Regions from separate parts of the Homo sapiens genome. Here regions 1, 3, 4, 5 and 6 are each linked to region 2. Evidence: promoter capture Hi-C in human tissues and cell types (Jung and others, 2019). All regions are on one chromosome and are shown on one strand. Each heading gives the region's core, a stretch centred on a gene start or on the middle of the fragment in contact. The rest is flanking DNA. Distances are from core to core; before and after follow the strand shown.

Evidence for each region. Contacts are between HindIII fragments. The study calls those that stand out against the background at their distance.
Region 1: a fragment that was not itself captured here is called in contact with the fragment with the promoter of GPC5 in region 2 in 1 of the 25 tissues and cell types used here (lymphoblastoid cells).
Region 3: a fragment that was not itself captured here is called in contact with the fragment with the promoter of GPC5 in region 2 in 2 of the 25 tissues and cell types used here (heart left ventricle and hippocampus).
Region 4: a contact is called between a fragment that was not itself captured here and the fragment with the promoter of GPC5 in region 2, in 2 of the 25 tissues and cell types used here (dorsolateral prefrontal cortex and mesendoderm cells).
Region 5: a fragment that was not itself captured here is called in contact with the fragment with the promoter of GPC5 in region 2 in 2 of the 25 tissues and cell types used here (H1 embryonic stem cells and lymphoblastoid cells).
Region 6: a fragment that was not itself captured here is called in contact with the fragment with the promoter of GPC5 in region 2 in 4 of the 25 tissues and cell types used here (H1 embryonic stem cells, dorsolateral prefrontal cortex, heart right ventricle and 1 more).

The regions. Positions count from the first base shown.
Region 1 is chr13:91,152,346-91,156,718 of GRCh38, forward strand. The region is part of intron 2 of LINC00379 (long intergenic non-protein coding RNA 379); the gene reads right to left. Among named protein-coding and RNA genes, the nearest start is that of LINC00379, 57 kb to the right of the region's middle. The HindIII fragment of the contact is 6,821 bases long and covers 1-4,373 here.
Region 2 is chr13:91,395,812-91,400,121 of GRCh38, forward strand. It overlaps GPC5 (glypican 5), which reads left to right and starts at 2,810. Exons shown (of 8, transcript NM_004466.6): 1 at 2,810-3,398. The coding sequence starts at 3,236. LOC124903189 (a long non-coding RNA gene) reads left to right here and starts at 1,066. Exons shown (of 2, transcript XR_007063831.1): 1 at 1,066-1,350; 2 at 1,535-1,777. RefSeq lists silencers at 2,624-2,918, 2,625-2,894. The HindIII fragment of the contact is 16,121 bases long and covers 1-4,310 here.
Region 3 is chr13:91,637,801-91,642,067 of GRCh38, forward strand. The region is part of intron 2 of GPC5 (glypican 5); the gene reads left to right. Among named protein-coding and RNA genes, the nearest start is that of GPC5, 240 kb to the left of the region's middle. The HindIII fragment of the contact is 5,661 bases long and covers 1-4,267 here.
Region 4 is chr13:91,536,510-91,541,134 of GRCh38, forward strand. All of the region lies in intron 2 of GPC5 (glypican 5), which reads left to right. Among named protein-coding and RNA genes, the nearest start is that of GPC5, 140 kb to the left of the region's middle. The HindIII fragment of the contact is 5,406 bases long and covers 109-4,625 here.
Region 5 is chr13:91,260,982-91,265,140 of GRCh38, forward strand. All of the region lies in intron 2 of LOC105370314 (a long non-coding RNA gene), which reads left to right. Among named protein-coding and RNA genes, the nearest start is that of LINC00379, 51 kb to the left of the region's middle. The HindIII fragment of the contact is 5,291 bases long and covers 1-4,159 here.
Region 6 is chr13:91,587,106-91,591,515 of GRCh38, forward strand. The region is part of intron 2 of GPC5 (glypican 5); the gene reads left to right. Among named protein-coding and RNA genes, the nearest start is that of GPC5, 190 kb to the left of the region's middle. The HindIII fragment of the contact is 5,361 bases long and covers 1-4,410 here.

The DNA of each region.
Region 1 (4,373 bases), core at 852-3,351, 240 kb before region 2:
GAGATACAGTCCTGCTACTACACATTCAGATATATGTGGGTGATTCTCATTTTTAGTGTTAATTTGAGCTTTGTAACTTTTTGATGTTTCCAGTTTATTTTTTATTATGAAGAGTACACACAGCCTTATGGAAGACAATAGCTAGTAGATATAACCAGAGCCAAATTAAACTTCTGCTGATCTATTTCAGAAAATAATGTTATCTTGGATTTCCTCTGACAGGTGGAAGACAATTATTATTCTTTGTCCATCTTTCTTGTCCCATGTTTGCAGTTGAATGTAAGACAAAGAAGGTACATATATTTATATGCAAAGAGTGCGTGACTAAACATATTCTACATAATTTAGAAATTTCTTATATTTCCAACATTTTGTTTTTCTCTAATTTCAGTCTTTCCATCTCAACAGGAAAGTGATGGCCAATTTGAAGAGTTGTAAAGATAGTATTTACAAAGCTATCTGGGAGCTAAAAGTGGAACTAATGTATGAAACCAAAAATGCTCTTACCATACAACCCAGCAATCATATACTCTTGAGCATTTATCCCAGAAAAATAGAAACATACAATCATGAAGAACCCTGTAAGTGAATGTTCACAGAAGCTGCATTCCTAGAAAACAGACCAAGGCGGAGAATAGACATGGGAACAGAGAGTCAGGGGCAAATGGAGAAACCTGTCTATTTCTGCCATATGCAAATACTTTCTTCTTGCATTTCTCAGGCAAAATTTTTCTTTTAATAGTAGTATTTATTTTTCTGAAATTTTCACATTTTTTCAGTTGTCTATGTAGGCTTCTGCCTAATTGGTCCTAGGATAAGTATTATTCTATTTGTTGTAAAGATGTATTGTAGTTTTTGATCAGTAAACAAACACTATGTAAACTGGATATATTTTATTTCTTAAATTTAATTAAAAGCATAGTACTGTGGTAAGTCCTGCTAGAGATACACTTAGCAATAGAGAGAGGGAGATTTCCCTTACCTCAAAGTTATTCTTAGTCCTGTGCAGGAGACAGAAATGCTTACAAAAAGACACCAAGTGCATGGTACAAAGTGAAAGGAAGGGAGTGCTGTGTCTTTAACCAGATGTAAAATTCCAGGTTGAAATATTGACCTGATGATGCATGTAGCTTTAAAATTCCATCAGAGTTGAGCAAATGTTGGAAGGGGATGGTGAAATGAGAGATGTGATACTTCTGAATCTCATCCCAGGAATGTAGTTAATGGAGTCCTGAGATGGCTTTGCATTTCTGAGGCAAATTAGGTTTTCTTCCACTTTCCATCATCTTCCTTCAGCAATGCAAGATGGTATTTTTGCAGTCACCTATTTCCCTCTTGCTTTCTCATGTTGCAACTATCTGGACTACATCAATCTTTCAGCCTTAATTCCTGACCAAATCTTCTACTCTTTCCCTGCCATATCACAGCAATTGAAGAGAAACAAACTTAAAATTTGAGTATTGTTTTTAACAAAGTAGAAAAGATTATGTATATCATCTATCAATTTTGAAATGCCGGCCACATAGGACATCAATGTGACATGAAAGCACACTTTTTCATCTAAATTACATTTTTTTGTACAGAAGGAAAGATCCAACTGAGATTGTTCTGAATAAAATAAATATACTATAATCAACTTTGCAGTATTTCCATCTGTGAAAATGAAAATAGATCTGCATAGCCTTTGAAATATTTATTTGGTTTTTTTCTTCAAAACTGTTTTTTCCTTGCATTTGATTGCCACCAGCAAATATAAAAAGTGATAACTTTTTCTAAAGTCTGGAACTAAACAATTCTTATTAAGTAGCAAGAATCTCAGTCATTGTTCTTTGTATTCACTCTGCACAACGACTTTTAATTTGCCTCGCTGTTATGTTAAAATAAAAGAAAAAAATCTGACTTATAAGTGGCATAATTTGCTCAGCTTTACAAAAATTGTTTCATTTAAATAATTTACAAAACAAAGATGTCCAAAACAGTTCAGATTGTACTAATCTTCAAAACAGATTTGCATTGAAATCTAATCTTAAAAAAAATCCTATCTAAACAGTACATATATTTTGAGTCTATTCGTCTTTAACAAAAGACAGTGAATTTTTTATCACCTTATCTCCAAAGAACACCACCACTACTCTGCATTATAAAAGCATGTTTATCTTGAATGTTTGTATATATTTCATCGCATTTTATCCTAACTCAGTGGTAGTAGAAATCTGTCTTGCAGATGAAGAATTAAGACAAATGATTTTGTCTGAAGTGACATCTGTACAAGGAGCTATGCACGAACCTAAAACCCAAACATCTAGCCCAGCTCTCTCACAGTGGCCACACTGCTGAAGTAGCCAACATACCACGTGCAGTAGAGGGTTGAAAGCTTTTGTCTCCCTTCTGTAATTCCAGCAGCTGCTAGTCACTGCTGTTCTGAGCATGGTTGCTTCGGGGATGCTTTACAATTAGAAACTGAGGAAGTAACTAGAAAGGGGTGTGGCTTATTTATTTTCTGGAGAAGGAGGAAATGGAGATGATTCCTCCTATTGGTATGCTAAATTTTTCACTACCAGAAGTCAAACTTTTTATTACAAAATGACAATTTTCTAAAGGAAATGAATAGCTCTTTTCATTCTGCATATTGACAAAAACTCGTGGGGAAAAAAAGATAACTCAGAGTAGTGTTAGTGTGCTTCAGATACTGGATACGTTAGGACAAAGATACAGAGAAGAGAAACGCAAGTGAGAGACAGAAAGCCAGTGGCCAATGAGGAGGCCCCAGGGATGGGCTTAAAGAAAATGGGGAACTTACAAAGATTTGCCACAAAGGCTAGAAAATACTTACAGATGAAGTCATTGCAGAAGTCTGCAAGCCCTCTGAAACCCAACAGAAGCAGCAGCAAGAAGGGTAAGGCTGAGGCAAGACCTGTTTGTTATTAACTTAGAAATGAGGAAGAATAGGGAGATTTATGTCTACTACCAAAGAGCAGTATCTGCAAACTTGTCCACTAAAATGTTTAATGAATCCTTCTGTAACAGTCCATTGTGCTCGATTGTTCCGTTTTTGTTACAAATCCCAAAGAAGTAACCTCAATCTGCTATCCTTTGAGAAACTGCTGATTCTTGGTGGCCTCTGAAATGAAGAAGCCACAGACATATTTCAAGGAAGGGAAGCAGAAAGTAACATCAATTCCAGTGTTTTTAGAACTGAATGACTTTGGGGATAGCTTGGTTGCAAACTCCAGGCTCCTTTATCTCTTTAGTCTCAAACTAGGAAGAAAAACCTGTTCTCCCTGACTGCATTCCTTTTCAGAAATTTCCCTGTGTCATACCCAGATGGTGCCCTTTGAACTTAAAAGCTAAAGAACTTTGTTCCCCACCGTAAATCGTCCCCACGGCCATGTTGCTTTTCCATTTAGCCGCCAAGCTGGGAGAATTGGCAGTTCTACCGGACAATTAGCACTTTGAAATATTATACCACCACATATGTAACAGGTTAGCACAGTGCCTGGACCCAGAGAGCACTCTGCAAATGTTAGTGCTTCCTTTCCTGTGGGCATGGGAGTAAGCAAGATCTACTTACCCTCCTACCACTGACACACAGGAAAAGGAAAGTAGGAAAGTTGGTGTTTGGTGTCCTAAAAAGGAATAGATACAAAAGTAAAAATATATATTAAAAAAAGATGTTACTGGACCCTTATTTTAAAACTTACTTTTAGATGTATAGATCATTAAGCAAAACCTGAAAAAATCAGAGAGAAAAATAAACAACAAGAAATGAAATATTAATATTGAAATGCCTGAGGGCAATCGCCTTTATCTCTGGTTGGTAAAACAACCCCCAATGTAAAAGCTCACAGTCCACGGCATTACAGAAAAACCAAAGACCTAAAAGTGGACTGTCTCTATTAATAATTAGTGATGGTTTTAAGTTTTTTTTCCTAGCACTTCAGTACAACCCAAAATGTTATCACCTAGAAGAAAGAAGCAATAGCAGGCCTGTTATTTATACAATCTGTGAAAATAAGCACTAACCCACTCCTCTAGTCCCTGAATAAAATCAGACATATGGTGGGTATTAAAAAGCAAATGTAGTCTATCACAATTTCCTAAATTTTTGTTTGTCTTTTCATGAAAACTCTCACTTAAAGGTCATTTCTCTGTTTCAGTTTTCCTTTAAGAGATAAATTCTCTAAAACACTCTTCACCCTTTCAAAAATCCTTAAACCCAGAAGAACATGGCTCCTAAAAGTATTCAGATTAACTTAGGAGTAATAGGGCAATTTAGCTAGCCAAGAAGTAAGTGGAGACTTTCTAGCTATTCCAATAATTGTTTCCTGACCAGAAAAGGGAATAACCTATAGCTTTGCCCTGAGTTAATAAAT
Region 2 (4,310 bases), core at 1,560-4,059:
ACCACACCCACCTAATTTTCATATTTTTAGTAGAGATGGAGTTTCACCATGTTGGCCAGATGCTCTCGATCTCCTGACCTCGTGATCCACCCGCCTCAGCCTCCCAAAGTGCTGGGATTACAGGCGTGAACCACCGCACCCGGCCGAGGTTTTTTATTTCTCTTTACAAGGTCCTAAGTTGACAAACTATAAACATATAAACAGTTACATAGAAAGTATCAGGGAAGTTTTGGATTTAGAATATTACTAAGCTGTATTTTAAATAATGACCATTTAAGGATTCTCCTATCCAAGGGTATTGGTATTTTGAAAGCAAAGCGCAATGCCTATTATATAAAAGACATTCAATACATTTTTTAAATACATTTTGTAAAATAAGGCATTATAACTATCAAATTATGGACAGTTTTCCCTAGCTTCATTTGTAATGTTTACCAGTAAATTGAATAAAAGGCTAGTTATGGTATAATTTGCAGAGGTTGCTCTAGAATGTTCTTATAAAAGGGATCGTGGCATTGTGTTCTGGGTGGAACTAGAAAACTTGTCTTGAAGCTTGGTAGCTTCAGTAGCAGGCATACTGTTGCCTTGCGTGGTGGGCTTAGGGATGCTAATAGGACAAGATGCCCTTCCAGGCCACATGCTGGCTCATCCACTTTGCTAGCAGTTATGGATAAGAGGTAGAAGGAAAATATATTTATTTTTTGTTAATGGGGATATTTTATACAGACTAAATATATTCTTGTTAGTTCCTATGGCATTTCTATAAATGACCTCCCACCTGTTTTGTTAACTTATAAAATCACTGAGAAAACTTGCTTGTGTGTCTCTTTAAACTCCTGTTAAGCCTAGAATAGCGGTTAAAAAAATTGTATGTTTTCAACCAATATGTATTAGTCAATTAGCTTTTACTGAACCATCAATACTCAGTTGTGTTTATGATTTTTATCCTTGCAAGACACACCGTTTTAGAGATTCCAGTTAATGGGATAGATGGTAATTTAAGGATCTTTTTGATGCTAAGAGTCTAAGATGATCAAATCTATCAAGGAGAGATCTTGGTAACAATAAAGATGTTTTAGAAAAACTTGGGAATTTATTAGCCTTATATAGAGATACACATAATTCCAGTAGAATACAGTTATATAGATAGAAATTATGCATATTTACTAGTAAAAAATCTGCTAAATGAATAAACAGCCCTTGGTGTTGCTGCCCAAAGGCCTTTGGTGAAACCTGATGGGTTTTTCTGTACCACAGAATAGTCAAGGAGAGCCTCTGGAGAAGAGCATGCGGTCTGGATTTGGAAGCCTCAGTTTGATTTCTGGCTTTGTCACTTACCTTAGGCATTCAGTAAGTCACTTCACCTCTGTGTTCCTGTTTCCTCATCTGTAAAACAATGATAATAGTAGTAACTACTTTATAAGGTTGTTATAAAGATTACATGAGTGAATTCATTTCCATAAAATACTTAGAATATTATCTGGCCCATAAGCACTATATACATTCTCATGGTTTTTCTTGTTTCTTTTCATAGATATAGGTGGCTTCCAGACAATCTTTCCATACTTGGTGGTTAGAGCAGAAGAGATTCATGAAGAGCACTGCCCTTTGAAACAAAATCTCATATTCAGAAAACTGATGCCAAACACCAAGTAGCATGATTTCACTCTGAAGCAGTGTTTCAGCCATTGCCCTGGAATGGTTTTAAAGCAAGTGATATACTGCTGAAAGTGCTGCCTTTGATATTAAATGTTCATTAAAAATCTTCACTAAGACATAAAGTTTTTCACTACTATCTCTTGGTAAGGGTTCAAATTTGAGATGAAATTCCTTAAAGTGGTTAAAGCATTCATTGTCCCCTCTGCCTGATGCTTTTAACTAGTTTATTTTACAGAAGGAGTACTCTCTTCAAGTGGCTGTAGATTGAGACACTCTTACAGGCTTAGTTGTTGAGTCAACCACATTTAAAAAATGCACCTGCCCTTTGGTTTATGGTGCGTAATGCATTCCTCTCATAAACTGTAAATTGACAAAATTCCTTTGCCATTTTAAAATTGCTTAAAGTATTTATTTTTCTATATTCCTTGTAAGGAACTCCCCTGAGCACTCTTAACTTAATTGCTCTCTGAAAAATATTTTAAAGAAATTCCAGAAGTGGTAAAGCTCAGAGGAGCCCCACAAATACAAAGTGCTGAAGTAAAATATGATGCTAAATGGTGATAAGAGACTTAAAACTAGATTTCATTGTGATAAGAATGTGATAAAGTTTGATTGTAATTCTTATACCTCCTTTCAGAAAATCATGTTATAGAAAAATGTTCCTAAGCAGTAAAACAAAGCCATTTTAAAAAATAACTTCTCATGTGCACTCTTTAACAACCTAAGTGTTATGAAGTCTCTCAATTGAGATCTTTAACCGTAAATAGTTTTTGCCTTTTGTATTATGTCCAGATCCTATTTAATGCAATTAGAATACAAATTCCTATGTACTGAGGACCTTGATTACATAGATGAGATATTTCTTAGTTCCAGTTGGTGTTTCTCATCTCTTGTCTTCTCTGACCCTATTTATACATTCTCTGTTTTTATCAGATGATTCTTCCCCAGAACGGACTGGGAGAGCGAGGTCCGGGTTTCCTTCTATTTATTTGCATCGATGTCGCTCCGAGTCTTCAGCACTGGGCCGCGTATGACAGCATCTTAGTGGGTGCGGAGCGGGACAGCGCGCCGGGGGCGTGGCAGGGGCGTGGCCTGTCCGCGGGGCGGGGAGTGCGGGGCGGGGCTTCCGCGGAGCGCAGCGAGCGGGCACATCCCAGGTTAGCTGCTGCGAGCCGAGCCGGGCGGCGGAGGCGGCGGCGGCGGCGGCAGTGGCGGCAGTGGCGGCAGTGGCGGCAGCGGCAGCAGTTGCAGCAGTGGTGGCCAGAGCGGATGCTTGCGGGCTCCCTGCGGCTCCACTAGTTTTCTTCGCCCCGCCCAGCCGCCCACTCTTCTCGGCTAGGGAAGAAGACCAGAGGGTGCTCAGCTGGAAAACTCTGGTGTCTCAGCTTAGGGCCTCCTCCGGGAAGAGCTAACTGCTCCCAGGTGAAGCCGGTGCCCGCGGGCGGTCCGTACACCCCGCAGCCGGCTCGCACCGCTCGAGAGCCTCGGCCGCTGTGTCTTCCACGTCTGCAGCTCAGCCAGGGCGCGCAGGGCGAGTGGGGTCCACTGGCGGGTAAAGGGGACCAGGACGGCGAGGATGGACGCACAGACCTGGCCCGTGGGCTTTCGCTGCCTCCTCCTTCTGGCCCTGGTTGGGTCCGCCCGCAGCGAGGGCGTGCAGACCTGCGAAGAAGTTCGGAAACTTTTCCAGTGGCGGCTGCTGGGAGCTGTCAGGGGGCTGCCGGATTCGCCGCGGGCAGGTAAGGGGCAATGAGGGGGTCTCTGGACTGGCGGCGTCCGAGCCCGGCCTTCGCTCCCCCAGGCTCCCTTGGTGGCACTCGTGGGAAGATGACCTTTCGGGCCCTGCAGCCGCGCAGGGTGAATCCCGGGGAGGCTTCCGGGGATGCTTGGTGCGGGTAGCCTGAGTGCAGCGCAGCGCAGCTCTGGGGACCCCTAACCAAGCCTGCGACGAATCCCCGTTCTGGGCATCTGCTTCCCGCCCGGCTCCCTTCGTCTTGGAGGATGAGTTGGAAGGAACCAGGAAAGCAGACATCAGGGCGTGGGGGACACGCAGTCTAACTCCGTTTCTCTTCCGAGTAGGAATTTCCCCAGTGCCCCACCGGGGATTTCGGTTTACTGCTTTCTCATAAGGTGGAGGGAATTGAATTGATCGCCCCAAGTTTGGTACTAAAAATCACAAACCTGCGATATACCCCTTTGCTGGAGAATGGGGCACAGACAAGGGCAGCCGGTCTCCTCTGTAATTAGGACTTGGACCCTGTGCACCCAGAGACGTGACCCTTAGCTGCCCTTCTGTGCCCTCGTATCAAGCCCTGCTTGGAGGAAACCCAACCACCCAGTGTGTCTCCCAGCACCAAGGTAGTTTTTAGCCTGAAAAGTGTTAGGGCAACAGGCGATCAAACCGAACGTACTGGGGAGTCACTTGACATGGATGAGATGTACCAGCGTTCCAAAGGGAAAGATACAGTTTGTGTGGCCAGCGTGGATCTTGCTTCCTGTGAGCGCCTTTTGCCTGTGCTTTCGAACCCTGCTCCCCGTTTCCACCGCACCAATTTCCTTCTGCTGGTGGGAGTTCCAGTGTAGGTTCTGTCTGGAAGAATAGGTCATAGCTGTCAAACGCAATAGCAGGTGTCTAGAGCTAAGTAAGATCT
Region 3 (4,267 bases), core at 453-2,952, 240 kb after region 2:
GCCTAAATTGGATTTTGTTTTCCAAGACCATGAGAGTGAGCACAGCACTGGACTGAGATGAAGACTCTACTCATTCTTCAAGAACTCCTCTGTGAAGCGGGCTGTCAGCCATTGCTTCTCCTGTGTTCCCTCTATAAATGTGACTGCCTGATTTGTTTATACTTGATAGAAAGGAATTGTCTTATGCCTGAATAGAGGATAGCTCTATAATTGAATCAACAGGCAGAGAGAAAAAGGAAGAGCTCATGACAAAGGCAAATGTAGGAAAACAGCAAGGCCCAGAAGCAATCTCTGTTTTGCCTTTGACATAGGAGTAAAAAGCGAAGCTGAGAGAAAACAAGCACAGAAAGGGGCTGCTCACCTAGAAACCAGGTGGACAGTGGTGTACCTTCTGGCTCCTGGTATTTCGTATATCAAACCTCAAGTCTAGTCACATATACGTATAAATTATGAAGACTTTCTTGTGTTTTCTCATTTCTAAATCTTTGTATTTTTCCTTATTGATCTATTGCCAATGCCTTTTACTACTTTTCTTTGATTTACAATAGACATTTCTTTCTTTTTCTTTTTTTTTTCTTTTTTTGAGACGGAGTTTCACCATGATGCCCAGGCTGGAGTGCAACGGTGTGACCTCACCTCACTGCAAACTCTGCCTCCCCAGTTCAAGCAATTCTCCTACCCCAGCGTCCCAAGTAGCTGGAACTACAGGCATGTGCCACCATACTCGGCTAATTTTCATATTTTTAATAGAGAAGGGGTTTTACCATATTGGCCAGGCTGGTCTCGAACTCCTGACCTCAAGTGATCTGCCCGCCTCAGCCTCCCAAAGTGCTGGGATTACAGGTGTGAGCCACCATGTCCAGCTTACAATAGACATTTCCAAATATATTAGTTATTGCTTTAATGTAGAACTCTAAGTTGAGGATTGGATTCAAAAAATTTTTTAAACAAGGACACATTTTTAAAGGAAATAATATACCCCAAATGAGAAAAAGCCCGTTAGCTAACGTATTATACCTCAATGTCCTATTTTCTAAAAAATTATTTATTAGCTTTTGGGATGAATTAATCTGTATGTTAAGCTGAGATTCAGCAAAACAAAATAAGTAAATTAACTGAATTTGAACTCTTTTCTTACTTGAAAAATACAAAAAGGCAATGATGCTTAAAGAAAGTAAAGATAAATGTGAACAAAGTATGAATAGCATTTTCTACATGCTTTGCATGAGCGAGTATATGAAAAACTGCCATAAACTTTACCTTATTTTATTTTAGTGGGTAATATGTTAAATTTAGAAAAAATGTGAGTTATCTTTTCTTCTGTCCCTCTGTCTTGATTCTTCCCCAGCACAGGTGTGTGGAATATTTTAAAGTTTGTCTAAAGAAATAATTATTATAGGTAAACAGATATAAGTGTATTGAGTTGGGCAAGATGTTTTTCCAGTTCCACCTCAAATGTGAGAAAAAAATAGCAGTGTGAAGCTTTGATTATGAAGTCTGGGACATTCTTACTATAGGCAAATACTTTCAGAGTAGAGGGCCCATGAAGATTAATTTATGTTACAGAAACAAACTTTCTGATGATTCATAAACTGAATTTCTTAGTTCACTTTGTTATTTCTAAAGAAATTTGGTATGATTTGATATGTGACTACCCCCATGGTAACCAGATATAGCTTGCTCATGCATTTATCGTAATTGACGTCAAAGAAGTGATACTTCCTTGTTGCTCTAAATATCTTCCCTGGAGTCTAAGAACTTACTCTAATTGAGTCAATTGGCATCCTTCACGGATTTTTTTCTAACTTCAATTGCACTTAATCTTTCATTGTTACCCAAGAAGTCCTGCAGTAGGTAAAATAGAGTCATTCTGACGCAGTCACAGTCCTGGGCCGAAAGGGATGGTGGCCAGGCTCTCTAGCAACATATTATGCATTTATTTTCTTCATTGTGTTCCTATTCATGGAGGACATATAGTATTCAGGTGTTTTCTAAGTTCTTCACAAGCATTATTTGATTTCAATCTTGATACAACCCTGAAAAGTAGGCTTTATTGTCTTCATTTTACAAAGAAGGGAAACGAGTTTAAGAGAGATTAAATATAAAGTAAAATACAAGGCAAGGAATTAAACCTAAGTCCTTCAGATTCCAAGGCTTGGGTTTTATTCACTATGTCAAGTTGTCCCTGTGTTGCTATATTTTGGTTCTCATACTCTTTTTTTTTTCATTGTCTTTTGGGAAGAAATATAAATAATACCCATAAAAGCTAGCTTTCTGTTCTTTAAAGCAAGTCAAATGAATGGTTAATTTTTTTCTAAGTATTTATATAGAATTAACTTTATGTTTAAAATACAGAGAGATTCCGCATAGCAAAAGAAACTATCATTGGAGTGAACAGGAAACCTACAGAGTGGGAGAAAATTTTTGCTCTCTATCTATCTGATAAAGGTCTAGTATCTAGAATCTACAATGAACTTAAACAAATTTACAAGAAAAATTACCCATTAAAAAGTGGGCAAAAGACATGACAGATACTTCTCAAAAGAAGACATTCATGTGGCCAAGAAACATGATAAAAGCTCAACGTTCATGATCATTAGATAAATGCAAATCAAAATCACATTGAGATACCATCTCACGCCAGTCAGACTGGCAATTATTAAAAAGTCAAGAAACAACAGATGCTGGTGAGGTTGCAGAGAAATAGGAATACTTTCACACTGTTGGTAGGAGTGTACATTTGTTCAACCATTGTGGAAGATGGTGTGGTGATTCCTCAAAGATCTGGAACCAGAAATGCCATTTGACCCAGCAATCCCATTACTAGGTTTATACCTAAAGGAATATAAATGATTCTATTATAAAGATAGGACCTATAATCCCAGCTACTCAGGAGTCTGAGGCAGGAGAATCGCTTGAACCTGGGAGGTGGAGGTTGCAGTGAGCCAAGATCGCACCACTGCACTCCAGCCTGGGTGACAGAGCGAGACTCCTCAGGAAAAAAAAAAAAAAGATACATGCACACACGTATGTTCATTGCAGCACTATTCACAATAGCAAAGACATGAAATAAACCCAAATACCCATTAATGATAGACTGGATACAGAAAATGTGGTGCATATACACCAAGGAATACTATGCAGCCATAAAGTGGAATTAGATCATGTCCTTTGCAGGGACATGGATAGAGCTGGAAGCCATTATCCTCAGCAAACTAACACAGGAACAGAAAACCAAACACTGCGGCCGGGTGCAGTGGCTCACGCCTGTAATCCCAGCACTTTGGGAGGCCGAGGTGGACAGATCACGAGGTCAGGAGATCGAGACCATCCTGGCTAACACGGTGAAACGCAGTCTTTACTAAAAATACAAAAAAATTAGCCAGGCGTGGTGGCGGGCGCCTGTAGTCCCAGCTACTCGGGAGGCTGAGGCAGGAGAATGGCGTGAACCCAGGAGGCGGAGCTTGCAGTGAGCCAAGATAGCGCCACTGCAGTCCAGCCTGGGCAAAAGAACGAGACTCCGTCTCAAAAACAAATCAAAACAAAACAAAACAAACAAACCAAAAAAACCAAACACTGCATGTTCTCGTTTATAAGTGGGAGCTAAACAACAAGAACACATGGACACGGAGGGGAACAACACACACTGGGGCCTGTTGTGGGGTGGGGTTAGGGGAGGGAGAGCATTAGAAAAAATAGCTAATGCATTCTGGGCTTGATACCTACATGATGGGCTGACAGATGCAGCAAATCACCATGGCACACATTTACCTATGTAGCAAACCTGCACATACTGCAGATGTCCTGGAACTTAAAAATAAAATACATAAATATTCTCTTCTAAAGGTTTGCACTTCATAGGAAATTTTGTTTTGTTATAGAACATCAACACTATTCACCCAGTACATGGTATCATATTTAGTTTATCAGGAGTTACCTACAAGTTAGAGACATAAGAGGGTGAGATCTTGATTAAGAACATTGGATGCTTTTCTAAGGAGTCATCCTGGAAGCTATAGGGAACACTGAGTTCGAATTGGAGTTGGGTGGTCTAGGGGCATGGATCCCATTGAAGAGAGCTAGTTAAGAAATAATGAAGACTGAACTAAGGCTGACACAAGGATATATTGCAGAGAGTGAATACAAGAGGCTAAAGTCATGGAAACAACATGATTTCTAAATGCAAAGGAATTACATGTTTATGGCTTGATTAACTGGATTGGTGGTAAATGCCATTCACAAATGTAGGCAGTTTAACAGGAGGCCC
Region 4 (4,625 bases), core at 1,562-4,061, 140 kb after region 2:
CCTGAAAAGTATTGTCTCACAGTACTGGAGGTTAAAAGTCCAAAACCAAGGTGTCAGCAGGCTTGGTTCCTTCTGAGGGTTGTGAGGGAAGGATCTACTTTGACCTCCAGCATCAGCTTGTGCACGGCTGTCTTCTCCCTGTGTATGTTCACATTGTCTTTCCTCTCTGCATGCCTGTGTCTATATAAGTACATCAGTCACGCTGGACTAGGGTCCACCCCAATGTCTCATTTTAACTAGATTGCCTTTGCCCCCAGAACTATGAAACAATAAATTGTGGCACAGCTCACTTTGTGGTAATTTGTTACAGAAGACTTAGCAAACTAATATGAAAATCATATGCTCTCTGATCACAACATACTGAAATTAGACATCAATAACACGGGACAGTTTGGGACAATCATATGTCCATGTAAAATAATAAAGACACTACTAAATAATGAACGAATCAAAGAAATCACAAGGGAATTTAGAAAATATTTTGCGAAGAATAAAAGTGAAAATACAATGTACCAAAACTTATTGGATACAGTGAAAACAGTACTCAGTGGCTAATTTATAGCTATAAATGCCTACATTATGAAAGAAAAAAAGGTTTCAGATCAATAATCTAACCTCCCACCTTAAGAAAAACAAGAGCAAACTAAACCCAAAATGTACAGAAGAAAAGACGTAATAAATGATTTTAAAGGAAACGAGTTAAACAGAGAATAGAAAAAGAATAAAATCAACAAAATCAAAAGTTCTATGAGAATATTAACAACACTGATAAAACTTTTAGATAGACTGAACAAGAAAAAAAAGAAAGCTCAAATGATTAAAATCAGGAGTGAAAGAAAGGACTTAACTACTGACTTCACAGAAATAAGAAGCATTATAAGGGAATGAAAAATTAGAAATCAACAGATTACATAAGTGGGTGAAACAAACAACTCCTACAAAGATGCAAGCTACCAAAATTTAGTGAAGTGTAAAATCCGAATAGACCTAGAACAAGTAAAGAGATTGTATTGGTAAGCAAAAAAAGTCCCATAAAGAAAAGTGTTCAACTAGATGGCTTTCATGATGAATGCTTCCAAACATTAAACATGAATTCCTACTATGTTACACAAATTCTTCCCAAAATGAAAGGATGATGGAACACTTCCAAAACATTTGGTGAGGCCAATATTACCCTGATACACAAACCAGACAAACCCATTAAAAGAAATGAAAACTACTGACCGATATCTCTTAGTAAATATAGATGCAAAAATCTTCAACAAAATTCTAGAAAACTGAATTTACAGGACATGAAAATATACAACATTACCAAGTGGAATTTATTGCAGGAATGCAAGCTTGATCTATCAGTTCAACTCGTAGATACATACACAGGAGAATTGAAAACGTATATTTACACACAAACTTCTACACAGATGTTCATAATAGCATTATTTACAATAGCCCCAAGGTGGAAACAACTCAAATGGTCATCAGCTGATGAACTGACAAATAAAATGTGGTTTATGCATACAATGAAATATTCAGTTATAAACAGAAATGAAATACTGGGGTACATGCTACAAAACAGGTGAAATCTAATAAATTCTTCATTAAAGTATGAGCTGCATTTGTCCATAGATTAGAGGTATGACTTTTGGATATTCTAATTTGAAAAAGAGCCCACTTCATTCTATCTAACCAGCAGTGGATGCTTGATGCTGGATATCACAGTTGAGCAAGGAGCTGTACATTTTTGGATATTTGGAAGTCTAAGTATGACTTCCAGGTTTTGATCCAGGGATAGGAGACTTTTATCCCAATTGCATAGGGAGGAGTTCTAACAACATTCCATCCATATTGCAAAACATGTAGTTGTAACCTTTTTGAATAAAGGAATAACTTAAGAAAAAGTATTGAAAACATCAAAATATCGTAAAACTGCGTACTATTTTTATGATATAATGGGGCAAACTACCTGAGCCTCTCCAGGTACATGTAATATTTTTTAGATGATTTTTTATTTTACTATTGCTAAAAGCCATACCAAATAGATGTTAATCTCCAGAACATTGATTCATTGCAAATAATTTTTTTTTTTTTTTTTTTGAGATGGCGTCTTGCTCTGTCCCCCAGGCTGGAGTGCAGCGGCATGATCTTGGCTCATTGCAAGCTCCGCCTCCCGGATTCACGCCCTTCTCTTGCCTCAGCCTCCTGAGTAGCTGGGACTACAGGTGCCCGCCACGACGCTGGGCTGATTTTTTGTATTTTTAGTAGAGACCGGGTTTCACCATGTTAGCCAGGATGGTCTCGATCTCCTGACCTCATGGTCCACCCCGCCCCCCCCTCAGCCTCCCAAAGTGCTGGGATTACAGGTGTGAGCCACCGTGCCCAGCCCCATTGCAAATAATTTTTGTCCTGTAGAGTTGTAATTTATTTTTGTCTGGTTGGAAACAACAAACCCAAGTATCCCTGAAAGATATTAATCATTAAAAATACTAACATTAAGATAGTATTCCAGCTTTCTTTCTGTCACTGTGTATAATGCTAGTCTCTTGCATTTTTTATTTCAAGAAGGTTTATTGTGTTGCTTGTTTCCTAATTACATAACTAAACAGAATTTTCACAACTGCTCATTACATATTAGTTTTAGGGACCTATGCTTCATCTTTTTGAAAATTATGCTTTGACATAACATGTTGAAAAGCTTTTTTTTAAAAGCGTTAAAACAATTAGTTCTTGTAATAGGTGGATTTGTGTGTGGGGGGCAGTGATAGAAACTCACATTCACTTAAATCCCTTTAAAAAGTGAGTGGGGAAATTATTGGATCACATGATCACAAGTGCAGAAACTGAAGGTCTGACTTGATCTAGTTCGTCATATGTTATCAGGAATCTTTTCTACCTCTCAATGAAACTTTAGTCTCTGTGGGTTTCTTTCCCAGGCAGGCTGCCTCCAAGTGGGAGCAAAGTACCTCAGTAGCTGTAGGCCTAAAATCTGCCAGGTTAGCAACATTAACAACAAAAAGATCTTATTTCCCATCAATTAAAATCTCCTGTCTGCTCTATGAAGCATCTACTGAAACTCTCACTGGCTGTTTTTGGGTCACCTTCCTACCCTAGAGCCACATGTGGGGTCAGCTGAGCTAATGTGTCAGCTGAGAGTGAAGAAGGTGGGCCTAGAGGATAAATATAGGGCAGTGACAAAAAGAAAAAAGCAAAGCCCCTGAGAAATGAGGATGTATACTTTATAATAATAAAAGATACAATCCATAATGCATATCTAATTGTTCAGTATGTGTCAAATAGCAACAATATATATGTTTAGATACAACATCATGGAAATACAAATTTAAAAATAAAAATAAAAACATAATAGGAAAAAAAAAACCTGACAAGTTGGTGAACTTTTGTATAATGCCATCAGCATAATGGGGACGTGTTTGCTTTAAAATCGGAAATAAGACATTCCTTTCATGTATTACATGCTCCAAGTTAATGTTTAACATAGAGGCACTAATAAAGCAACAAAAATTTTAAAATGTATGTCTTGCTGGGAAATAATTACATCAGGCTGTATAACAGAAACCAAGATTATTCTTTGTCCCTTGTTCAACAGTACTAGGACTAAGCAAAAGCAACTTAAGTGCATATTCCAGGAAATACTTGCTCCTGGAAGAAAGACTGTGAAACAGCTAGTTTACTTATCAAAACTAACAGCTGGCCCTTCCAGACTCTCTTCAGGGTCCTCTTCCTGCTAGATTCACCAATCCAAATAAACTCTGCCCACTCACAACACTTCTCTGCCTTGTAAGACCTGCCTCAAGATCACTCTGGCCAGGCCTTAGAATTCTATAAATATCTTTCCTTTACAGGCCACATACTGTATGATTCTATTTATGTAAATTTTATACAAGAGGCACATTTTTAGTGGGAAAATACCTTAATTTTTGAATAGGCCCAGTGGGGCTGGAGAGAAATGAAGAGTGACTGCTAACCGATACAGGGTGTTTTTTGGGGGTGATGAGAATGATCTGAAGTTGATTGTGGTGATGGTTACAACACTGCAGACATTAAAAGCCTTTGGATTGCACAATTGAAATGGGTGAATTGTATGGCATGTGAATTATACTTCAATAAAGCAGTTACATATCTAAGAAATGCAGTGTAAATAGATGGACTTGGAAGGTTGAGCAAAAGTCATGTACATTTGGAAAATTTCTTCTTGTCATTTGTTTAGTTAACTGCTGTTTTTGTTTGGCTGTTCCATTTTTGGAACTAGATTCCCTGTGATCATGATCCTAAGTACAGGAAAGAAATATGTGGCCCAGATGACAGCTGATTACATGTACTTACTTTACATCCTCCAGAGTCCATGATAAGGATAAAGACATACAGAAAAAAAAAACAGTGGCCACAACATTATACATTGTTGATTAAAAGTCTAATTGAGTCAGAATGTACAGTAACTGCATTTTTGGTGAACGATGAGTGAAGGTTCACATTATTATGTATTTTAAAATGGTGAATTCCATTTTATATGAATTATATCTCAAAAAATGTTAAAATTACCTAATTTTTGTGTTTAAATGCCTACAATTAAATCAGTGTTAAGTCATAAGCAATTTGAATAACATTCTAAT
Region 5 (4,159 bases), core at 651-3,150, 140 kb before region 2:
GAAGGGTCAAAGATCTGCTCCTGCTCCGAAACATGCACAAGGCTATTTTCATAAGGGGAATGATACCATCAGGGTTATGTTTTAGAAGGATGAACTGATACAGCCTCTGTTTGCCTCTCCAAATCCACTCTATGTCTTTTCCACCCTGCTTTGTGCCCGGGAAGGCTGACCTTTGTGGACTCCATCAACTGGTCTCCCTGGCTTCCAGTTTTGGTTTGTCCAATGAAGGACAATGGCAGGAGACTGAAGAGTGAGAGGAAGGTGAAGTCAGTGTTTGTTCCCCATTTCCCTCCAGGCAATGGTTCAGCAATGGCTGTGCTGAACCATGGTCTCTATCAAAGCCTACAGCTCTTGTCACCTGGCCTCCTATAGCTAGAACTTTCTCTTTTCTACTTGTGGTAGGTGCTTGGTACCCTGCCCTCAGGTAACTGCTTCCCTTCGTTGCATGAAGATTGATTGTAAAAGAAGACTGGAAGTAGAGAGAATGGTTACAAAGTACTTGTAGGTAGGAAATAATTAAGAGCTGACCAAAGTAGTGGATGATGAATCAGAGAAAACAAGACAGAAATAAGATACATTTCGAAAATATCTAATATAGGAGAGAAAAGCAACTATAACTAATTGGGTGAAAGAGCAAGGGATAAAATAAGTCTAAGAGGATGTCCACGTATTTTACTTCAGCAAATGAATAAAGACTGATACCATTCGCAGAGACAGCAAAGTAACATCATCTGATTTGCTCCCCCAACAACTCCTGGTTTCTATTATCACACTTTTCAAAATTGATCATTTGCTTCTTTGAGATACCTTTTGTATTTATCCAGTATTTGCTGGACAGCATAATTATATGAGATTTATCTGCATTGAGGCATGTATTCCTTTTTAGTGCTGAGTAGTATTTTATTGTGTAAACCACAGTTGTTTATACATTCACTGGTTGATGGACATTGGAGTTGTTTCCTGGCTTTCACTGTTACAAATAAGACTACTATGAACACTAATGCACAAGTCATTGAGGCTTGCATTTTTCTTACAGAAATATCTAGAATTTAAATGGCTTGGTTATATACAGGTATATCTATAACTGTTTAAGAAATTGCCAAAATGGTTTTCCAAAGTGGTTTCACCATTTTACATCCCATAAGCAATGTGTAAGGTTTACAGTTTCTCCATCTTTTTACCAACACTTGATAAGGTCATTCCTTTTAATTTTAGGTATTGTAATGGGTTTGCAGAAATAGTACATTGTATATTTATGTTGTATTTTCCTAACGAATAATGATGTTGAGCATCTAGTTATGTGCTTATCTGTTCATGTCATTTGCCCACTTTTTCATGGGATCGCGTTTTTTCTTGTTGAGTTGTTTGAGTTTCTTGTCAACCTTGGATATAAGTCCTTTGTTCAATGCACAGTTTGAAAATATTTTCTCCCATTCTGTAGGTTGTCTGTTTACTCTGTTGATTATCTCTTTTGCTCTGCAGAAGCCTTTTAGTTTAGTTCACTCCCACTTATCTATTTTTGGTTTTGTTGCATTTGCTTTTGAGGTCTTAGTCTTAAATTTTTTGCTTAGTCCAATGTCTTAAGAGTTTTTCTTAGGATTTCTTTCAGGGTTTTTGTATTTTCATGTCTTACATTTAAGGCTTTAATCCATCTTGAGTTAATTTTTGTATATGGTGAGAAATATGGATCCAGTTTTTTTTCTTCCGCATATGCCAATTTTCACCGGGTGTCCTTTCCCCATTGTGTTTTTTTTTTTTTTTTTTGGCTTTATCAAAGATCATTTTATTGTAGGTTCTCTATTTTGTTCCACTTATCTATATGTCTACTTTTGTGTCAGTGCTATGCTGTTTTGGTTACAATAGTCTTGTAGCATAATTTGAAATCAGGTAATGTGATGCCTCCACCTTTGTTATTTTTGCTTAGGATTGTTTGGACTATCTGGGCTCTTTTTTGGTTCCATACGAATTTTAGGATTATTTTTTCTAATTCTGTGGCAAGTGATATTGGTAATTAGATAGGAATTGCACTGAGTCTTACATTGCTTTAGAATATGTGACCATTTTAATGACATTGATTCTTTCAATCCATGAGCATGAGATGTTTTTCCATTTGTGTTATCTACTATTTCTTTTATTGGTGTTCTGTAATTCTCCTTGTAGAGATCTTTTACCTCTTTGGTTAGCTGTACTCCAAAGTATTTTATTTAATTTTTTGTGGTTACTATAAATGAGACTGAGTTCTTGATTTGCTTCTGAGATTGAACGTTATTGATGTGTAGAAATGCTACTGATTTTTGTACATTAAGTTTGTAACCTGAAACTTGACTGAAGTCATTTATCAAGTCTAGGAGTCATTTGGAGGGGTGTTTAGTGTTTTCCAGGTATAAGATCATGTCATCAGTGAACAGAGATAATTTGACTTCCTCTTTTCCAATTTGGATGTTTTTTGTTTGGTTTTTGTTTTTGTTTTTGTTTTATTTCTTTCCCTTGCCTGGTTGCTCTGGTTAGGATTTCCAGTACGATGTTGAATATTATTTGAATCTTCTCTCTTTTTTCTTGGTTAGTAGAGCTAGCAGTCTATTGATTTTCTTTATCTTTTCAAAGAAACAACTTTTTATTTCATTGATCCTTTGTATTTTTTTGTCTCAATCTCAGTCCTGCTCCGATCTTTTTTATTTCTTTTCTTCTTTGTCTAGCTCCTTGAAGTATGACATTAGGTTGTTAACTTAATTTTTTTCTATCTTTTTTATGTAGATATTTTGCTATAAACTTTCCTCTTAGCACTGTTTTTGCTATATCTTAGAGGTTTTGCTATGTTGTGTCTCTATTTTTATTCGTTTCAAAAATTTTTTTGATTTCTGCTTTAATTTCATCATTTACCTGAAGATCATTCAGGAGCAAGTTGTTTGGTCTCCAAGTGTTTCTATAGCTTTCAGAGTTTCTGGTGGTATTGATTTCTAATTTTATTCCACTGTAGTCTGAAAAGATATGCAACGTGATTTCAGGTTTTTAAAAAACTTATTGAGATTTTCTTTATGGCCAAGCATATGGTTTATTTTCAAGAATGTTCCATGCCCAGATGAGAAAAATGTTTACTCTACAATTGTTTTGTGGAATATTCTGTAAATGTCTATTAGGTCCTTTTGGTCTGGCAACCAGTTTAAGTCCAGAGTTTCTTTGTGGATTTTCTGCCTTAGTGATCTGCCTAGTGCTCTCAGTGGTGTTTTGAAGACTTCAGTATTATTGAACTGCTCTCTGTCTCTTTACTTAGGTCTAGGAGGATTTGTTTCATGAAGCTGGGTGGACTGCTGTTGGGTACATATAAATTTATAATGGTTATATCTTCATGTTGAATTGAACCCTTTAACATTATATAATAATCTTATCTTTTTAACTTTCATTGATTTAAGGTCTGTTCAATGTGATATAAGTATAGCTACTCCTGCTTGTTTTTGTCTTATGTTTGTCTGGTATATCTTTTTCACCCCTTTATTTTGAGTCTGTGTGTGTATTTATCTGTTAGGTGGGTCTCTTGTCGGCAGCAAATGGTTGAATCTTGTTGTGTTTTGTTCTATCCAATTTTCCAGTCTATACCTATTAACTGGAGCATTTAGGCCATTTACGTTCAAGGCTAATATTGATATGTGAGGTTTTGTTCCTGTCATAATGTTGTTACCTAGTTGCTTTGTAATCTTGATTGTGTAATTTCTTTGTAGGGTGTGACCTTTGTACTTATGTGTGCTTTTATAATCCTGAGTACATCCTTTCCCTTCATTTTTATGTTTAGAATTCATTTGAGCATTTCTTGGAGAGCCAGTGTACTGGTAATAAATTCCATTAGCATTTGCTTATCTGAGAAAGATTTCATTTCTCCCTCATTGATGAAGCTTAGTTTAGCAGGATATGAAATTCTTGGCTGGCATTGTTTTCTTCAAAGAGGCTGACAATAGGACCCCAGTCCTTTCTGGCTTTTAAGGTTTCTGCTGAGAAGTCAACTGTTAGTCTAATGGGATTTCCTTTATAGGTGCTTTGATGCTTCTCTCCAGCTGCTTTTAGGATGTATTCCTTCATGTCAATTTTGGATAGCCTCACGAACATATGCTTTGATGAGCCTTGTCTTGCAGAGATTATTCCAAATGTTCTTTGAAGTTCCCGTATC
Region 6 (4,410 bases), core at 1,361-3,860, 190 kb after region 2:
CTCCATTGTTTTGCAAACAACTCAAACTTCTTTGATTTTTCTGGGTGGTATACTTATGCGTTAATAACGAAGTTTTGGAAATTTATGTTTTAGGCTATTTATAGTGTTATTTTAAGATGAAATGAGTTATTTACAGATAGAACTTGCTTTAAAGTCATTTGATATACAGAGTATAAGTATACAACTAAATCGAAGATTACTGTTTTTTAAATGTCTCTTTGCAAACAGTAGTTTCCTAGTATCTGACAAATGATCTAAGCATGACCTTTTCAAGTCTATATTTATGCATAAAATAAGGCATATTTGTATTGTTGTCCTCATATAAAAATCTTTTTTAACTAAAATAAGCAATGTGTCAGTCAGTTTGGCTAGGGAACTGTTTTTTCATTTAACCTTCAAATCAGCCTTCCTTGCCTCCCTACCTCTTACTTCCTACATTTTGACATTCATTCAGCAAATATTTTAGAGGGACTTCTTCCTTATCTTTCTCTTTTATGAAACATTTTACAGGTTTCTGTAGTACACACTGATGGTTCTTGTCTTAATCATATTACATTTATGTTTTGAAATATCATTTTATTATGTTTTACTCTTTAGCTGTTTTACGAATTCTCTTCTTCTAATGAGATCATAAATTCCTGAAAGCAGGAACTGCCTTTTCTTATTCTCCCACATATCAAAGAACAGAATGTACTCAAGACACCCTCATGAAAGAGAGTTTTATGGTTGAAGACTTAAGCTTGTGTGAATGAAGTCTAACACTTTTGAGAGATCATTGTTTATCAAATGTCTCCTGCATTGTATATTATGCTTGCTCTATGCTATTAAAGTAATGAGATTTCTGACTCAGTACTCATAATGTGGAACCTTGCAGTAAGAAATGATGAACAGCTTCAAATCACCTTTAATGTTAGCTTCACATTGAAACCACTGCAAATCATCTATGCTACCTTATACAAATTGAGTGTATTTGAAAGGCTAAATTGAGCAGTGGAAACTAACAGCACTGGTGTACTCTTCTTTTGGCTGGGAGTTGGAGAGGCGTCTTTTCATCTACAGGTGATTTGCATTTTCAGAGACTGGCTAATGCTCATAAAACATTAGAAATCTATACATACAGCTATGGTAAATATTCTTAGGCCTCAAATTTGTACCCTATGACCTTTAGAATTTACTTCCCACTTTGCAGTCATATGCTACCTGGCTACATGTAGGAATTTCAGATTGTTCCAAAGAGCATACCAATTAAGAACAAGTTTCTGCTGTCACACTGCCAAATATTGACTAAGTGGCTTTGGGAGAGTTCCTTAATTTCTCTGAGCCTCATTTTGCATTGCTGAGTAGAGGGAATGATAGTGCCACTTTTATGAGAGAGTTGGAGGATTAGAGGAGATAATCCTAAACAATTTTTCCCCCTCTACAGGTGATGTATTCTCCTCATATCACACAGAAAATAAAATAGGTGAGAACTTTCTAACTTAAAAATTATACCCTCAAATTTAAATTGATTTCATACATCTTCACCTATCCTTTCTTCCTGCCATTCATCTCTAAACAAGAGGGACCTCTTTTCCTTTGCAAAGTCAGTGCTAGACTTGTGCTCTTGATCTCTCTTTCTTCTTTACCTTTATAACCTTCTTGTGTTGTTTATCCCTTGTGTCATTGCATTTTCAGTTTCTTTCATTCTTTTGGCTCTGGCACTTTCTTTCCAGCCTATAAAATTGTTTGTAGGCTAAAAATTTGACCTGGCAGCCATTGGAGCTGCTGTGTCATTGTCTTCTTCCCTTTTTACCAAACTTAAAATAATTTCTGCATACTGTATGGATTTTACCAACTTTCCCTTTAGTTAATATAGTCACTGAATAATCCAAACTTATTACAAAAAATTAGGGGTGGAAAATTTTCTCCCATTATCTCTTCAACTCACCAATCTGACTTCTACATCCACTTTATTGAAATGACTTTGCCAAAGATCACCAATAAAGCTTTAGTTTCCAACTGCCTAATTTTTGTGCAGTATTTGATGTCTTTGACCGTCTCTTCCTACCCTTGATAGCTCCTCACTGACTTTCTCTTTCAAACTGTTTTTTTATGATAACACTTTTCTAATCCTCCTGCCTTTTAAAAAACTACCTTTGACTCTCATTCCTCTTCTTTAATTTTAAGTATTGTATATTTCTTGGGTTTCCTCCTTTGCCTTTCCCCACTTCCTTTTCTTCCGTACTTTTTTTCTGACTTTCTCTCTCTCTCTCCCCACCACCTGTTTCTAGATCATCTATCTGCAACTACAAACTCAGGAGGAAACAGGCTACTGTGTTCAGTAAGCATCTCAAAGTGAGCCTGTCCAAGACAGCTTCTCTGTTTCCTCTCTAGACCTGACCATCACCCTCTCTCTCTGGACCATTGCAATGATCTCTAAATGACTCTCACTACTTCAGGTGGTGAGAAGGGATAGGAAGGAGAGATCTATAAACACAGAACTAAGAATTCCTTTATCATTCCCCCAATGAGCAAAAAGTTACTGGTTAGTACTGATTGACAAAGGGTACAATTTTCAGTCCTTCACTCAAAAAGTCAACTTCATCATCTTAGATTTACTCAAGTTTGTGAGTTGCCTTATGAGGATCTGAGTGTCTGGGTGGCCATGTGGCTAGAAATATTCTATTAGATCCTTATTTAATTTGAATATGTGTATAAATAATGCGTGATTAGACTCAAAGATGTAGGGATTCAAACTATATCTTCTATGAATTTCTATATCTCTTCCTTGCTAAATTTTTAACTATGGGTATCTTCTATGGAGAAATTATATTAAATACTCTTCAGTCCTATAGTGTGTAACCTTGGAGTTTGATAATTCAGGTGTACTACATTAAAATTTAAAACTTTCTTTAAAAAGTATTATGTAAATGCTTTTGAATTTCTAGAATTTATATATCTTATTAATTTCAATATTTTGTTTTATAAATATATATATGACCTTTCATATCTCAAACTGCTATTTATTTGCGTTATAGGCATACTTAGAAAATAAGAAAAAGTTCTTTATTTTTATTTTTATTGAGAGGAAAAATTCTTTATTTGATAACATGGATTATCAAATTACCCTATCAAATAAATATAAAATACCAAGTAATATTTCTAATATATTTAAAAGGAATATTTGATTAAGCTTGCCATTTTTGATTATTACGGCTTATTTCATAAATATTTAATGACTCATAAGATCTTCAAATTATTCCCCTCAATAACATTCGATTTTCTTCACCTATTTGTTAATAATTTAGCAATCCAACTGGAAAACATGAACATATATGGCATAATATGTTTTCCTATATTTTCTCTTAATAAACTAATGCCATGCCTGTATATGTTTGTTTATGTTCCAGCTATAAGAATTTAATGTGTTTCTTTGAGATCCCTTTACCCAGAAATAAATTATCTTACCCTTGGTAATATATTAGTAAATTTAATAGTCCTCTGAAGTAAAATAAAAATTAAGCAAATTTACTACAAAAATAATCTTGTTTGCTCAAGAACATTGAATGTATGAATTTCCACACATTGAGTCACCACTGCTTTTCCCAGGGGCTTAATTTTACATGTTTCATTTTGTCCTCTTAGAACTTACTACTTCTTTCCCTTTTTACTCATTCCCTCTTTTTCTTCTCCCTCCAAGTCCTTGTATTAATCACTGGTATGCCATCCTTTATTGTCTTATAAACTATTTAAATAAATGGACAAATTAATTTATATGATTGAACCTCTCCTTAAAGTGAGACATAGAACTAAGGGCTATAATTGTGAACTCTGTAGCCAGACTGCTTGGGATCAAATTGTCTCTGTTCCTTCCTAGTTACGTGACTGTGCCTTTGTTTTCTCATCTGTAGTATGGGAATAATAATATTACCTCACAAGGTTGTAAGGAGCATTGTATTGTTGATGTTTGTAAAGCTCCTAAGACAGTGACAGGCATTTGTAAAGCTCCTAAGACAGTGATAGGCACCTCATAAGTGTTTGTTAAAGACACATGTTCTTTCGGTCAACCTTCTATTCTTCTATTGCATCTAAGTAGAAAAATAGCTCCTTCCTCCTTGAGAACAAATCTTCCACCAGAAATTGGGTTATAAGTGCTACTCACCTCCTCAGGGACCTTCTTGCTTTCATAAATTATCTCTTCCAATTCTGCTGAGAGGTCTGCTGCTGGCCTGATGGGGTTCCATCTATATCTGACTTGACCTTTCTTTCCAGCTACCGTTAGGACTTTTTCTTTTGTGTTGACCTTCGTGAATCTGATGACTATGTGCCTTGGGAGTGGTCATCTTGTGTAGTTTCTAGCCGGGGTTCTTGGTATTTTTTGAGTTTTCATGTCAACCTCTCTCATGCAATTAGGGGAATTTTCACAAACTG